Regions from separate parts of the Homo sapiens genome. Here region 1 is linked to region 2. The links are contacts of gene promoters, found by promoter capture Hi-C in blood cells and fetal thymus (Javierre and others, 2016). All regions are on one chromosome and are shown on one strand. Each heading gives the region's core, a stretch centred on a gene start or on the middle of the fragment in contact. The rest is flanking DNA. Distances are from core to core; before and after follow the strand shown.

The links. Contacts are between HindIII fragments. The CHiCAGO score rates a contact against its expected background, and 5 or more counts as called.
Region 1: a contact is called between a fragment that was not itself captured here and the fragment with the promoter of SEC14L4 in region 2, in 1 of 17 cell types (total CD8 T cells). The highest score is 5.4, in total CD8 T cells.

What each region holds. Positions count from the first base shown.
Region 1 is chr22:30,115,345-30,122,806 of GRCh38, forward strand. It overlaps HORMAD2 (HORMA domain containing 2), which reads left to right. Exons shown (of 11, transcript NM_152510.4): 8 at 3,636-3,703; 9 at 6,288-6,445; 10 at 6,620-6,870. Among named protein-coding and RNA genes, the nearest start is that of HORMAD2, 39 kb to the left of the region's middle. The HindIII fragment of the contact is 2,545 bases long and covers 3,759-6,303 here.
Region 2 is chr22:30,503,621-30,511,472 of GRCh38, forward strand. It overlaps SEC14L4 (SEC14 like lipid binding 4), which reads right to left and starts at 2,075. Exons shown (of 12, transcript NM_174977.4): 1 at 1,938-2,075; 2 at 57-132. The coding sequence starts at 1,991. RefSeq lists a silencer at 1,842-2,136. The HindIII fragment of the contact is 5,471 bases long and covers 1,541-7,011 here.

The DNA of each region.
Region 1 (7,462 bases), core at 3,781-6,280, 390 kb before region 2:
GGATCCCCTTGCCTCAGCCTCCCAAAATGCTGGGATTACAGGTGTGAGCCACTGCACTTGGCCAACACTCACCTTTAATAGATTGCCTCATAAACTTAACTATAAGTAGTGTCCATTTCTAGCCACAATATACTTTTAGATACTTTATTTTAGAAAAAAATCGTTGTAGGATGAAATCCTAAGTAAGCATGAACTCTACCTTGGCCAAATATTTATTCATTCAGCAAATATTAATTGGGTTCCTTTTATGTGCCTAGCACTGTTCAAGGTATAAAAACACAGGGGTGAATGGGATAGGCAAGATCCCTGCTCTCTAGAAGCCTACGTTCTTATGAGGTAGGATAAACAATAAATAAATAAATAAAAATTAGTACAAACAATTTCAGATAGACATAGTGCTATGAAGAAAATTTTTTAAACAGGTGATGTACTAGAGAGTGCTGAAGTGGAGAATGAAGAAGGAGGGATTGGATGGCTGTGTTAGATTGGGCAGTTCCTAGGAGGCATCCCTGAGAGGCTACTGTTTGAGCTGAGATGAATAACCAGAAGGAGTCAGCCCATGCAAGTCTGTGAAGGGCAATGGCATGTGACAGGCCAAATAACACCACAGTTAACATCACAGGCATTGGCGTCAAATCGCAGTTCTACCACTTACTAGCTACATCAATAATGAGACTAATGTCTACTTCAGAGTGTTGGCTACACAAGGAGATGAACTTGTGAAATATTTAGGGCAGTGCCTGAATATTATTATTATCATTAACCGGAGACCACATGTTCCAGAATATAGCTGTGCAAAGGCCCTAAGACAGGAAGGAATCTTGGGTGTTTGAGCATAGAAAAGGTGCCATGAGCCTGGAGCTTAGCTGAGTGCAAGGGAAAGTGGCCAGAGATAAGGTTAGAGAGGCAGACAGGGGACAGATGGGTAGGGCCTTGCAAATCAAGATAACTTTTGGATTTTATTTTAAGGGTGGTGAGAAGCTAATGGGGGTTTTTAAGAAAATGAGTGACATGGTCTGATTTGTATTTTCAAAAACTACTTTTGGCTGCAGAACAGAGAATGAGCATCAGATGGACTTGCAATTTGCTTTAGAGATAGACCTGAAAAGTCTTGCCAATGGGTTGGAATGTGGAGGGAGAAGGAGAGGCTGCATATGTTGCTGCTGCTTTGGCCTATGTGACTATATTTAGTATGATTCATAGAAACCACTGATGAGCAGTTCAATGGTTCATCTTTATTAGGCAACACATTAGTCTGAAAAGTGTTATATGAGGTGTTAAGAATAGTGCCTGCTGTAAATATACTTTCCTAGATAAGCCAGAGTCAGACTGAAGTTAATTAAGGATTAGCATCTTCTGTAAAACAATTATAACTATAACTCTTTTATTAGTTGCTTCAGGGATCAAATAATAAAGTGTAAATAAAATTATCAACTACTAAAACAACCTACTCTTGTTACAATTTAAAAAAACAAAAGATCACTCAGAGCATTAAAAAGCTAGAGTTGATTGAGAAACATGGGCAGGCAGGAAGAATGAGCATTGTTTGCTTGGCAGAGCAATTACACCCAGCATTGGCTAAGAGAGGACTCTGTTCATCTCGCCTATCTGGAGTGAACCTGTTGCTATAGGCTCCTCTAATCTCATCTGTCTCTCCTATTGTATTTACAAAGCAGTTTTCTGAACTTGATTTGATTTCTCAAGTAGGCTGTCTTATTCAGAAAATACTTTTATCTTTTAAAATTAACTCCATTACAAATCAATCTCCTTAGAGTTTAAGCATCATGAGCCAATTTTCCCAAGATCTGATCACCTGTAATTAAGTTTCATGTTAAGGTTTAAGATCAGCAGAGCTGGGAGGCTTAAAGTAACAGAAACACTGAGACTTTTTCTGATCAGTCTGACATCCTCATTTTCACATTGTCAAGGATCAAATACTGAACCAGATGAATAAAGGACATTTTTTGTGTTCTGTTTTGAGCTTATACTGTTTACTTGTCATTAGTACTTCTCCAGCTCTGTGGACATACTGTATGACATATCTGGGCCAAACATTTGCTTCAACTACTAGATGTTTATTTTATTTATTTATTTTTAAAATTTAATTTAGTTATTTTATTTATTTATTTTTATATTTCAGTTTATTTTATTATTTCTTTCCTTCTATTCTATTCTATTTTTTGAGATGGAGTCTCGCTCTGTCACCCAGGCTGGAGTGCAGAGGAACAGTCTAGGCTCACTGCAACCTCTGCTTCCTGGGTTCAAGCGATTCTCCTGCCTCAGCCTCCTGAGTAGCTGGGATTACAGGCGCACACCACCACGCCCGGCTAATTTTTGTATTTTTAGTAGAGACAGGGTTTTCCCACATTGGCCAGGCTGGTCTTGAACTCCTGACCTCAGGTGATCTGCCAAAATGACCTCGGTCTCCCAAAATGCTGGGATTATGGGCGTGAGCCACCATGCCCAGCCAGACATTCATTTTATTTTAAATGGAATCTATCTCTTATGAGGAAATTTGTCCCTCTTTATTTCTAGTTTTCTTAACAGTGAGGAGAGCAGATAGCAGTAGTAGCATCTAGTTTTCAGTGCAGGACTGAAAAAACAAGACTTGATATCAGAGATCAGGGCTCCTTTTCTAATTTTTGTAATTTTCCTATTGCCATTATAGTCTTCCCTGAATTACTGCAGTAGACTCTTAATTGCTCTCATGGTTTTTATTTCTTCCCCTCTGCACTTTTAAAGGAGCCAAGATGATGTTTAAAAAATACAAATCACTCACCTGCTTAAAACTCTTCCGTAGACTTCTAGCTTACTTAGAATGAAATCCAAACCCCTTACCATAGCCAACAAGGCCCCATAGTCTCCTTTATCACCTCATTTCCTGGGTTCTCCCCCTCGCTCACTGGTTTCCAGCCACTGGGCCTCCTCTCTGACCCTAGAAGAGGCATCCCTCCCCACTTCAGAGCCTTTGCATTGCTGTTCCCTCTGCCTGAGGCACCCCACCCCCAAGATCTGCACATAACTGACCCTTGAGGCTCAGTTCAAACCTCACCTCTTCAGCAAGGCCTTCCTTGGCCCTTCCAAACCAAAGCAGCACTTGTCCCCTTCATGTACCTCTCTATCACAGCATCTGCTTCTTGTTCACAGCACTTACACTATCGGAATTAGCTTATTTCATTTGTTTACTTATTTACTGACTATTTCCCCTACTGGATTGTATGTATATTCCAGAAAAACAGGGACCTTTTCTGTCTTGTTCACCGCTGTGACTCCAGTGACTGGCACAAAGTAGACATTCAATACAATATTTGTTACATGAATGAATGGTTTCTCAACTGTTTCCACTGTTGTTTACCTAGTTTGGTTAGATATTTGACTCTGTGATTTTGTTTTTCCAGCTTTAAAATGGTAATAATAGTATCTTTCATCTAATTTATTTTTAGCATGGAGGAGAAAAACTAGGTTGTCTTTATATTTGGAAATATTACTCTTGAATAATGTGATACTGTGAAACAAACAGCTATATAGGAAGTACAGTAGATATACAGTGAAAATGTTCCTTACTTATGATCAGGTAAGATTCTGGATTTCTTTTCTAAATTCTTTTTTTTCTTTATTTCCTTTGGTTTTTGTAGAAGGTGACTGAGATGTACCAGTTCAAATTCAAATACACGAAAGAAGGAGCCACTATGGATTTTGACAGGTAGAATCTAACTGCTTAATGAACATGAGAAATAAATAGGATTGAGGTAAACATAAGCTTCTTGAGGCCAGAGAAAGGCCTTATACTTCTTTACACATTTCCCCACAAACCCTACAGAAAACCACTATTATAAAAAGGGGCTGCAACAATTGTTTACATTCCTGAAATCCATGGATTAAGCTGGTGGGAATAGAGAAAATGGCATGCAGCACAAAGGTAGAAATTATGTCAATAAGGTTGCCTACACGCTATTGATTGAATAACTCCATAAGGCTCTGTCTAGCCATTAATTCAAAGTTTCTCAACTGCTATGCCTAGATAGCGATCCTTTCCACCTCGATATAGCCAGCCTGTGCCTAGGGTAGATAATACCCTTGGACTATTTGCCCGTATGCACAAATATTCTCATTTGCTTACCCCAGTATGTCATATAAATATCATTTCCTTGTGTCCTTGTATGAAAAGATTAGAAAGCACTGCAGTTTCCTTATGAAGTCGAAAATTCCAAGTTTTAGGTTACTAATGGGTTAAATAGCAAACACAAGGACATTGAAGAGCAACGTTTATTTTTCTCCCAGTAGCTTTTGGATTCAGACCTGCCAGGGGGGATGGAGAGCTAAGTATTGCTGATGAGATGGCACAGTAGTGGAAGGTACAGATGATGGTGAAAAGCTCTGGATAGTAGAGGAATCCAAGTAAGGGGGATGGATGCCCTTGAAAGGAAAGACTGATGAGAGACATGGCCTAATTTTCAATTTTCCCTACTATTAGCTCTGGCTCATCATTTGCCATGAGCTTGAGGACTTTTCTCCAAGATTCACTCCCTTGATTATCCTTCCATTTGTAAAACCTACAGACAGCACTAGAATGTGAAGAGAAAATCAGTTCCAAAAATGAGAATTAAAATATTACCTTTTATTAGCTAACATTTGTATAATACTTTACAGCTTATACAGCAGCACTTTTCATACACGTTTTCTCACATAAAAAGTTACCTTTACTCTCCAAAACTCAAAAATATACACTGATGGCCAGATTAAACTCTTTTGTTCTGAAGGCACATATGCCAAGAGGTAAGCTGTAAAACAAAAATGGCCAAATCTTTCACATGCTAAGGAGAGAAGGTGATGCATATTATTAATTTCCTAGAGAAGAAATATAGGCATTTGTTTAAATGGGAGTCCTGAATATGATTTTACTGATGTGTCCTGGAGGCTCCCATGAGCTACATATCTATAGCCCTTCATTCTGGTTACCTACATTTGAATTGGTTAAATCCTGGTTGGCAGAATTTTAAGTTGTTCAAAATTGGAAAAGGAGCTAATGTATTCACTTAATAAATGTTTGCTTCATGAATTCACACTGTCTCCAAAGATCAGTTAGGGAAAAATCCAACATTTCAATTACTTAGGGTTATTTTTCATATTAAGAGCTAACTATGTGCACAGCCATGTGTAAATATATTATAGTCATGGTCCCTCCTGGAAACTACTCAAATGTGAGACTAATTGTGGAAGGAAACTTTGGAGATAAATGAACAAAGTTTAGAATTGGAAGGTAATTTAGTCCAAATTGTTCATTCATTCATTAATTCAACAAATGTTGATTGAATAGCTGGGCACCAAACTCTGTACTGTGGAGATGAAAGATATAGCCACTCACAGTCTAGAGAAGGACAAATAGTTATCCTGAGGATGAGATGAGGGTATTATCAGAGAAGACTTCTTTGAAGAGTCTGCGCATGAGCTAGGTATTAGAGGATAAATTTAGGACAGTCAGGAAGAAAAGTGGAAAAGCACAGTACAAGCAAAGTGAACAGCATATGCAAATACTTTGAGTGAGAGGAAACTGGGCAATAGCTGCAGATGAGGATGGAGGTGAGGATATGACGGGTTGTGAAAGGAATTGTATACACACTGTCTTTGAATTTGATTGAAAACTGATGGATATAATAGAAGAATTCTAAGTAAGAAGGTGACATGAACAGATTTTCCTATTAGTAATATTATTTCAGCGGTGATATGGAGAATATTTTGTAGTGTGGACAAGAAGGAAAGCAGGAAAAATAGTTAGATAGCCACTGTAGTAATCAATGCAAGAGTGAGGAAGGGATACTTTTGCGAGATAATCAGACGGTAGAAAGTCCCAGAGCTGGTGATTGATTTTATGCTTGAGAGTTGTAGAAATGTCTTTACGCTTATCTCACAAATGAGCTAACTGACCTAGAGTGTGTCTAAATGACTTGACCAAGGTCATTCAGCTAGTTATCAGCAGAGCTGATATTAGATGCCAGGTCACCTAATTCCAAATTCGTTGTTCTTACTGTTGTGGTATATGATTTTTTTCAAATCAAATTTTTAAAAAGATCGTATTTTAAATGCTTTTAGGGAATTTGCTACTTAAGAAATTCTTTGTATATACATTGCAAAAAGTACCATCGCTCCCCTAATTTACATTCTAAAAAAGTCTCAAAATATACTAATGTTTAATTTATATTTACTCACATAGTCAAAAGTTTTGTTCCTTTTGGGATAGATTGCCACTATTGTATATGATCAAAAAGTATGCTTTTTTTTCTGTGTAGTCATAGCAGCAGTACAAGCTTTGAAAGTGGAACAAACAATGAAGATATTAAGAAAGCCAGTGTTCTACTGATCCGTAAATTGTATATACTGATGCAGGACCTTGAGCCACTTCCTAATAATGTTGTACTTACTATGAAACTCCACTACTATAATGCAGGTAGGTAGAGAACTTTAGGCAAATTCCTCCTTAAGTGCTGAGCTAATATTTTCTATAAGTAAAAGGATTTTGCAGGCATCTGAAAGAGAAGTCTGTTGCTACACATGAAAGATTAATCGGATTTGTTGTATTGAAACTCAGTTTTCATGGCTTTTTGCCCTTTTCATTTCGCAGTGACCCCACATGATTACCAACCCCTCGGTTTTAAAGAAGGGGTAAATTCACACTTCCTGCTGTTTGACAAGGAGCCTATCAACGTGCAAGTGGGATTTGTCTCCACTGGCTTTCATAGCATGAAAGTAAAAGTCATGACAGAGGCTACAAAAGTGATTGATTTGGAGAACAATCTGTTTCGGGAGAACAGCACTACTGAGATCGCCCATCAGGGTCTAGACTGTGATGAGGAAGAAGAATGCAATGACCATGTAAGGCAAAGCTTTAGAGATTTTCTATCGTGTCAGTTAAACACAATTGATATTTTTCAGTTTCTACCCAGGGCATGCACGTGGAGTGTGCCAGCTATAAAAACTGAAACAAAACTAGTCTCTGACATCAAGGAGTTTTTAATCTAAAAAAGTTTAATCTTCTAAAAGGAAATATACTTTATCAGATGAAATTGTCCATAACTAGGAGGAAAAAGATTTTCTAATATATTTATTTTATTAAAGATATCATAAATTTAGAAAATTTGAGGTTTTCTTTCCTTTATTTGTAAATGACATAATTTTAGGGTTGAAAAATATTCTAGGTATTTATTCATACTCATTGGAAGTATAAATCAGTTCTTGATACTGAGATAATTGGATGGGAGGAGTTGGGGAAGATAAATTTTATGGATAAACCCGAGTCAGCGTGAAAACAAATAATAGTTAACTTCTGGTTATGTGGAGGAAGACAAGCTTTGGGGCTAACTCACTGGGGAAAGTCAGGGGGTTGGTGGGGTTGGAGCTAGTGGAGCCAAACAGTCAGGTCTCTGATCCCTTTATCCTCCCATTTCCACCAATAGAGACTTGGAGT
Region 2 (7,852 bases), core at 825-3,324:
TGAGACCCTCCTTCCTTCCCTCCCTTTCTGCGTCCCCTGACCCCTGCAAGCCTCACCTCGCAGCCAGCGCAGGAGGAAGTAGTCATCAGCATTGGGCAGTATGGGCAGCAGGTCCTGGAGGTTCTCCCGGAACTGAGCGGAGGAGGATCTGATGGTCGGCGGAGCTCTCATGACCTCGGGGGCCACCAACCCCGCCCCTAACCCTTCCCACATCATCCACCAGTCAACTCCACCAGAAGACCATGCAGGGTGCTGCCCTGAACGACTTTGCCATCTGAAAATAGGGCACCCTCCAGCCCAACATAGGAAAAAGAGTTGGGTCCTTCCCAAAATTTGGGAGTGCCCTACACACTGGACTCCCATTCTACATGTCTAAGGTGGGGCCCTGGCATCCTTATTTTTAATTTTTATTTTATTATTATTTTTATATTATTATTATTATTATTATTATTATTGAAACAGGATCTCACTCTATCGCCCAAGCTGGAGCGTAGTTGCGTGATCTTGGCTCACTGCAACCCGTGCCTCCCGGGTTCAATAGATCCTCCCAGCTCAGACTCCCAAGTAGCTGGGACCACAGGCACACAAGATGCCCAGCTAATTTTTGTACTTTTTGTAGAGATGGGATCTTGCTATGTTGCCCAGGCTGGTCTCAAACTCCTTGGCTCAAACAATCCACCCGCCTTAGTATCCCAAAGTGCTGGGATCACAGGCGTGAGCCACCATGCCCGACTGACAGCCTTATTTCTACAAGGATCCCTGGGAGAGTCTGATGCAGGCCAGCTAGGCGGTTTTAGGAATGTTGTCCCTGATACTGCATCTTGAGGGTTTAGATTTAGAGGCAAGTTACCAAACCTCTCTAAGCCTCAGTTTCCTTATCTCTGAAATGGGGATAAAAATAAACTTGTACCAATCAAAGGAGTCTGTGCACGTAAAACACTTAGCAGGCTTGGCTCCGAGCAGGTGTCAGATATATGTGAGCACTCAGCCAGCGTGGACTGCCTGATGCCCCGGACAATGGAGGCTTTGTGGAAAAAAAACAGAGGCAGAGGTCAACAGACAGGGGCTGAAAGAGAAGCCAGGAATGCCTTATCAGGGCATCTGTTGCGTCTGAGAGAGAGGAGATCTCACTTCCCTGGGGACCAACAGAGCTGAAGGCAAAGGCTGGGTTTGAAGGTGAATCTGTGAATCCAAATTTGGGATTAGAAATATGAGGCCGGGCGCAGTGGCTCACACCTGTAATCCCAGCACTTTGGGAGGCCAAGGCGGATGGATCACAAGGTCAGGAGTTCGAGACCAGCCTGTCCAAGAGACCTGCCTGGCCAATATGGTGAAACCCCGTCTCTACTAAAAATACAAAAATTAGTCGGGTGTGGTGGCGGGCACCTGTAGCCCCAGCTACTTGGGAGGCTGAGGCAGGAGAATCGCTTGAACTCAGGAGGTGGAGGTTGCAGTGAACCGAGATTGCGCCATTACACTCCAGCCTGGACGACAGAGCAAGACTCCATCTCAAAAAAAAAAAAAAAAAAGATTACAGAGAAGCTTGGGCCCTAAGAACAAATCACAAAGAGAAGCCAAACAAACAAATGTTGCAACCTGGACATGAAAAGCAGTCTGTCTACCCAAGGCTGCCCCCGCAGCCGGATGGCAGCGCCACTCCCTCCCCCACAACCGGGGAACAAGGACCAGGGCCGGGTGGTGGAGAGCACGCAAGGTCAGAAGACTGGATTCGGCTCCTGGTCACGCAGAGATGGGCCCCTGTCCCGCGTGCTGCACGTAGCCGCCTCAACAACCGCACGCTGGACCAGAGGGCAGAACAGAGGCGCTCTCTCCAGGCTCGGTGTTCCAGTCTGTACCATGGGGGCTCCAGCCGGGTTGGGCAGTGCCAGGCTGCTCAGGGCCCCTCCTCAAGCCTCCCAGCCCGCGATGCTCCTCACCCTGGCCAGCGCTTCCTGCTGCTGGGGGCTCAGGTCCCCGACTCGGCTGCTCATGGTGCCCGCGGGCGCAGAAAGGCTCAGGGCGCAGGTCCGCCCGCCCGCCGCCGCCTGGCCTTGTATCCGCTGCCGCCTGGTTGTGCCTCCTGGGCCAGATGTTGGTCCCGCCCCGACGGGAGAGGCACTGGGCCTGCCCCGCCCCGCCCAGTTCTCTCCTCCTCTCCAGGATTTTTTGCTGCGGTCACCAAGCGCACCCTACTTGGGACAGGGAGGTGACCTGCCGGGAGAGTGGCCTGGGGCAGCTGGAGGCAGCCACCTCCAGGCCTCCTTACTGCGGGGGCTCCCGCCTGTTCGCAGGTGGCAGGAAAGGGAATACACTGAGATCCTCTTTCCAGCAAAATGGAGGAAATTTTTTTTTAAATGTTTTTTTTTTTTTGGGCCAGGCGCGGTGGCTCACGCCTGTAATCCCAGCACTTTGGGAGGCCGAGGCGGGCGGATCACGAGGTCAGGAGGAGATCGAGACCATCCTGGCTAACATGGTGAAAACCCGTCTCTACTGAAAATACAAAAAATTAGCTGGGCGTGGTGGCGGGCGCCTGTAGTCCCAGCTACTCGGGAGGCTGAGGCAGGAGAATGGCGTGAACCCGGGAAGCGGAGCTTGCAGTGAGCCGAGATCGCGCCACTGCACTCCAGCCTGGGTGACAGAGTGAGACTCCGTCTCAAAAAAAAAAAAAATTTTTTTTTTCTTTTTCTTATTTTGAATAAAATAGAGACCGGGTTTTGCTATGCTGACCAGGCTGGTCTGGACCTCCTGGCCTCAAGCAATCCTCCAACCTCCGCCACCCAAAGTGCTGGGATTAGGGATGTGAACCACCATACCTGGCCAACATGGAGGAATTTTTAATAAACCTGGCTCAACCCTCTAGGACCCCCAGGGCTTTTGTCTAATGACCCCCAAGCTCCTTCCCCTGACCTTGAACACAGCCTGGGACCTGTCAGTGCTCACTGACTGATAGGACAGCCTCATGTGCAAAATGGTTCCTGCCCTCAAGATGGTTGGAAGGATAAGAGGACGCACCCTGGGTCAGCAGAATGTCTGGCGTTGCCTGCTCAGTAAGTGCTGGCTGGTAGGAATATATTTCAGAATTGTGTTATTACTGAGGCTGTCACCAGAGCTGGGAGCTGCAGGGGTGGAGATCCTAGGGTGTCCCAAGTGCGGAGCTCCTGGGTGAGAGCCACAGTCTGAAGGTGGAGGCATGCAAGGTGCCAGCCGTGGACCAATGGAAGCCCTGGGCAGAGTGACAGAGTGGGCGGAGAGCCAAAAGGCCACTCTGGCTGACACAAGAGAGCCAGGCGGAGATCACTAGGAAAAGCAAGAAAAAAGTTCAGCCAGGCGCGGTGGCTCATGCTTGCAATCCTGGCACCTGGCACTTTGGGAGGCCAAGGCAGGCGGATCACTTGAGGTCAGGAGTTTGAGACCATCCTGGCCAACATGGTGAAACCCTGTCTCTACTAAAAATACAAAAATTAGCTGGGTGTGGTCGTCCACGCCTGTAGTTCCAGCTACTCAGGAGGCTGAGGCACAAGAATTGCTTGAACCTGGGAGGTTGAGGGTGCAATGAGCCAAGATGGCACCACTGCATTCCAGCCTGGGCGACAGAGCCAGATTCTGTCTCAAAAAAAGAAAACAGAAGTTGGCTGGGTGTGAATTTTCAAGAGAGGAGTAGAGGGGACGTGAAGATGAAGGAGAGAGTAAAACAGGCCACAAGACCCTGTTCCCTCTGTCCTCCCATGGAATCAAACCAAGCTCTAGTCCCGAAAGGACTAACCCAGTGGCCGTGAGCCACAGAGGCTTTTGAGCCCAGACAACGTGGCTTGTCATAACAAGCATAGAGACATGCTGTAATTGTAAAATACAAACCAAGTTTTGATGGCTTAGTACCAGAAAAAGTAAAATGTTTCATTAACTAATTTTATTTATTTATGTACTGAGACAGCATCTCACTCTGTCACCCAGGTTGGAGTGCAGTGGTGCAATCATGGCTCACTGCAGCCTTGACCTCACGGGCTCAAGTGATCCTCCCACCTCAGCCTCCTGAGTAGCTGGGACTACATTCTCACCCCACCACACCCGGCTAATTTATTTTTATTTTTATTTTTATTTTTTTATAGACACAGGGTTTTGCTATGTTAGCCAGGCTGGTCTCAAACTCCTGAGCTCAAGCCATCCATCTGCTTCAGCCTCCCAAATTGCTGGTATTACAAGCGTGTGCCACTGCTCCTAGCCTCATTAATTAATTTTATATAAATGATTATATATTAAGTGATATTTTTGAATATAATAGGACAATAAAATATGTTATTAATATTACTTTCACCTGTTTCTTTTGATGTTTTAATAATTTTGAATTATTTATAATGATAATTTTTTTTCTTTTTTTAAGACAGGGTCTCAATGTGTCACCCAGGCTGGAGTGCAGTGGCAAAATCTCCGCTCACTGCAAGCTCCACCGCCCCCCACCCCTGAAGCTCAAGCAGTGCTCCCACCTCAGCCTCCCCAGTAGCAGGGACTGCAGATGTGCATCTCCACATCCGGCTAATTTTTGTATTTTTTTGAAGAAAAATACAAAACATGGTTTTGCCATGCTGCCTAGGCTGGTCTCAAACTCCCGAGCTCAAGCGATCCTCCCGCCTCAGCCTCCCAAAGTCCTGGGATTATAGGCATGAGCCACAGTGCCCAGCTAAATTGTTATTTTTTAGGACAGTTTTAAGTTCACATCAAAACTGGGCAGAAAGTACAGAGTTCCCACATATCTGCTGTCCCCATACACACACAACCTCTGGTTCCAGAGATATCCATTTGCTGAAATTGATGAGCCTACACTGACACGCTAATATCACCCAAAGTTCCTAGTTTACATTAGGGCTCATTCTTGGTGTTGGATATTCTATGGGTTTTGACAAATGTATAATGACATGTGTCCACCATTGTGGTATCACGCAGAATAGTTTCACTGCCCTAAAAATCCTCTGTGCTCCTACCTATCCTTTTTACTTAAAAAAAAAAAAAATGTAGCCACTGGGGCTGGGCGTGGTGGCTCACGTCTGTAATCCCAGCACTTTGGGAGGCTAAGGCGGGTGGATCACCTGAGGTCAGGAGTTTGAGACCAGCCTGGCCAACACGGCGAAACCCTGTCTCTACTAAAACTACAAAGATTACCTGGGCATGGTGGTGCACGTCTGTAATCCCAGCTACTCGGGAGGCTGAGGTAGGAGAATCACTGAACCCGGGAGGCGGAGGTTCCGGTGATCTGAGATTGCGCCATCACATTCTAGCCTGGGAGACAGAGCAAGACTCCATCTCAAAAAAAAAAAAGTAGCCACTGGAAAGATTTAAAATTACACGTATGGGCTGGGCATGGTGGCTCACACCTGTAATCCCAGCACTTTGAGAGGCTGAGGTGGGCGGATCGCTTGAGCCCAGCAGTTTGAGACCAGCCTGGGTAACATAGTAAAACCCCGTCTCTACTAAAAACACAAAAATTTGCCAGGCATGATGCTGTGCGCATGTAATCCCAGCTACTCAGGAGGCTGAGACAGGAGAATCACTTGAACCCAGGAGGCAGAGACGGGGGTTGCAGTGAGCTGAGATCATGCCACTGCACTCCAGCCTGGGTGACAGAGTGAGATTCGGTCTCAAAAAATAATAATAATAATAAATAAAATAAAATTACATTTATGGATCACATTTATGACTTGCATTATATTTAATTTGAACATTGTTTGCCCTATAGAGATTTAAAATATGTTTTTAGAAAAAGAAAGTAAATCATAAAAAATGCTAAAAGAAAGTAAAAGTGACACCACATCTCTGGAAGGGCATGGTCTGTGTTTAAAAACAATGACAGAATCACAAAGGGAAAATGAATTGATTTGACTACAAAATACAAAAATCTATTAAACAAGAAACAGAATTAAGACATTTATCAGAGTCGGGCGCTGTGGCTCACGCTTGTAATCCCAAACTTTGGGAGACTGAGGCGGGCGGATCAGGAGATCAGGAGTTCAAGACCAGCCTGGCCAACACAGTGAAACCCCGTCTCTACGAAAAATACAAAAATCAGCTGCGCATGGTGGTAGGTGCCTATAATCCCAGCTACTCGGGAGGCTGAGACAGGAGAATCACTTGAACCTGGGAGGCAGAGGTTGCAGTGAGCTGAGATCATGCCACTGCACTCCAGCCTGGACGACAGAGCTAGACTCCATCTCAAAAAAAAAAAAAAAAAGACATTTGTCAGTATTTGCTGATGGAAATTTGGGAAAAATAAAATGTACAAAAATTCAAGTTGATAAGAAAAATAGGAAGGCCCTAAGAAATAAATGGGCAAAGGATTCAAAGCACCAATTCTTAGGAATGAAAATGCTCAGGGTGTATTTATCAAGTGGATGAATGCCCAATCTCCAGAGTCATCAATGAAATGTGTATTCAAGTAATGAGATGCATTTTTCTCTGAAAAATCAGCAAAAACAAACAACACACACACACAGACACACACACACCTTTTAAGAAAAAACTACAAAATTAGCTGGGTGTGGTGGGGTGAGACTGTAGTCCCAGCTACTCAGATAATAGGCCAGGCACAGTGGCTAACACTTGTGATCCCAGTACTTTGGGAAGATCTCTTGAAGCCAAGAGTTCGAGACCAGTCCAGGCAACATAGTGGGACCTCGTCTCTACAAAAAATTAAAAAACTAGCCAGGCGTGGTGGCATGCTCCTGTAGTCCCAGCTACTTGGGAGGCTGAGGAGGGAGGATCACTTGAGCCCAGAAGGTGGAGGCTGCAGTGAGCTATGATTGTGACACTGCACTCCAGTCTGAGTGACAGAGGGAGACCCTGTCACAAAAAGAAAGAAAATAATAAAGTCAGTTAGAAGTTGGTGAAATGGAGACATTAATACATTGATGGCAGGAATATAAACGAATTCAGCTTTTCTGGAAAACCACTTGACCATACACTTCAGAATCCTGAAATATTTTCCCACTTTGCCCAGTGATAATCCTAACAAAAAATATTTTAAGCTTAAAGTTGTTTGTGTGTTGTTAACAGGAAGATTGGAGACAATTTTAAAGTAAGCTATGGTGCTTAATGTAGTTGATGGAAGGGTTTATAACAACAGTTTGGGAAAGACAGGACCACATAATGCATGCTTTATGCTTCTGGAACATAAAACAAAAACTACTCAGTAAAAGAAAAACTGGATAAGAAAAGAAATTTGGGGCTGGGCCCAGTGGCTCATGCTTGTAATCCCAACACTTTGGGAGGCTGAGGTAGGTGGATTGCTTGAGCCCAGGTGTTGGAAAACAGCCTGGGCAACAAAATGAGACCCCGTCTCTGCAGAAAATCAAAAAATTAGCCAGGTGTGGTGGCACGCACCAGTGGTCCCAGCTACACCAGAGGCTGAGGCAGGAGGATTGCCTGAGCCAGGGAGATCGAGGCTAAAGTGAGCCATGTTTATGCCACTGAACTCCGGCTTTGGCAACAGAGAGGAGATCTTTTCTCAAAAAAAAAAAAAAAAATCTGTTTTAAATAAATTTGCCCCAACTTTTCCCAGTTTCTGAGGAGTGGGAAAAGCCATATTTTGAAATACCAGAGGTAACAAATCACCTCCCAAGAGAAGCTTTTATTTAACTATCACTTACAGGTACTTTCTACTTACCAGGCTGGCTCTAAGGGTTTGTAAATATTATGATAGCTCAGGGCTGTCCAGTGGAAAAATAATACAAGCCACACGGATAACTTTCAATCCTCCAGAGCTGTGTAAAAACTCATTCTAAGCGCCGCACGTGGTGGCTCATGCCTGTAATCCCAACACTCTGGGGGGCCGAGGCAGGCGGATCACAAGGTCAGGGGATCGATC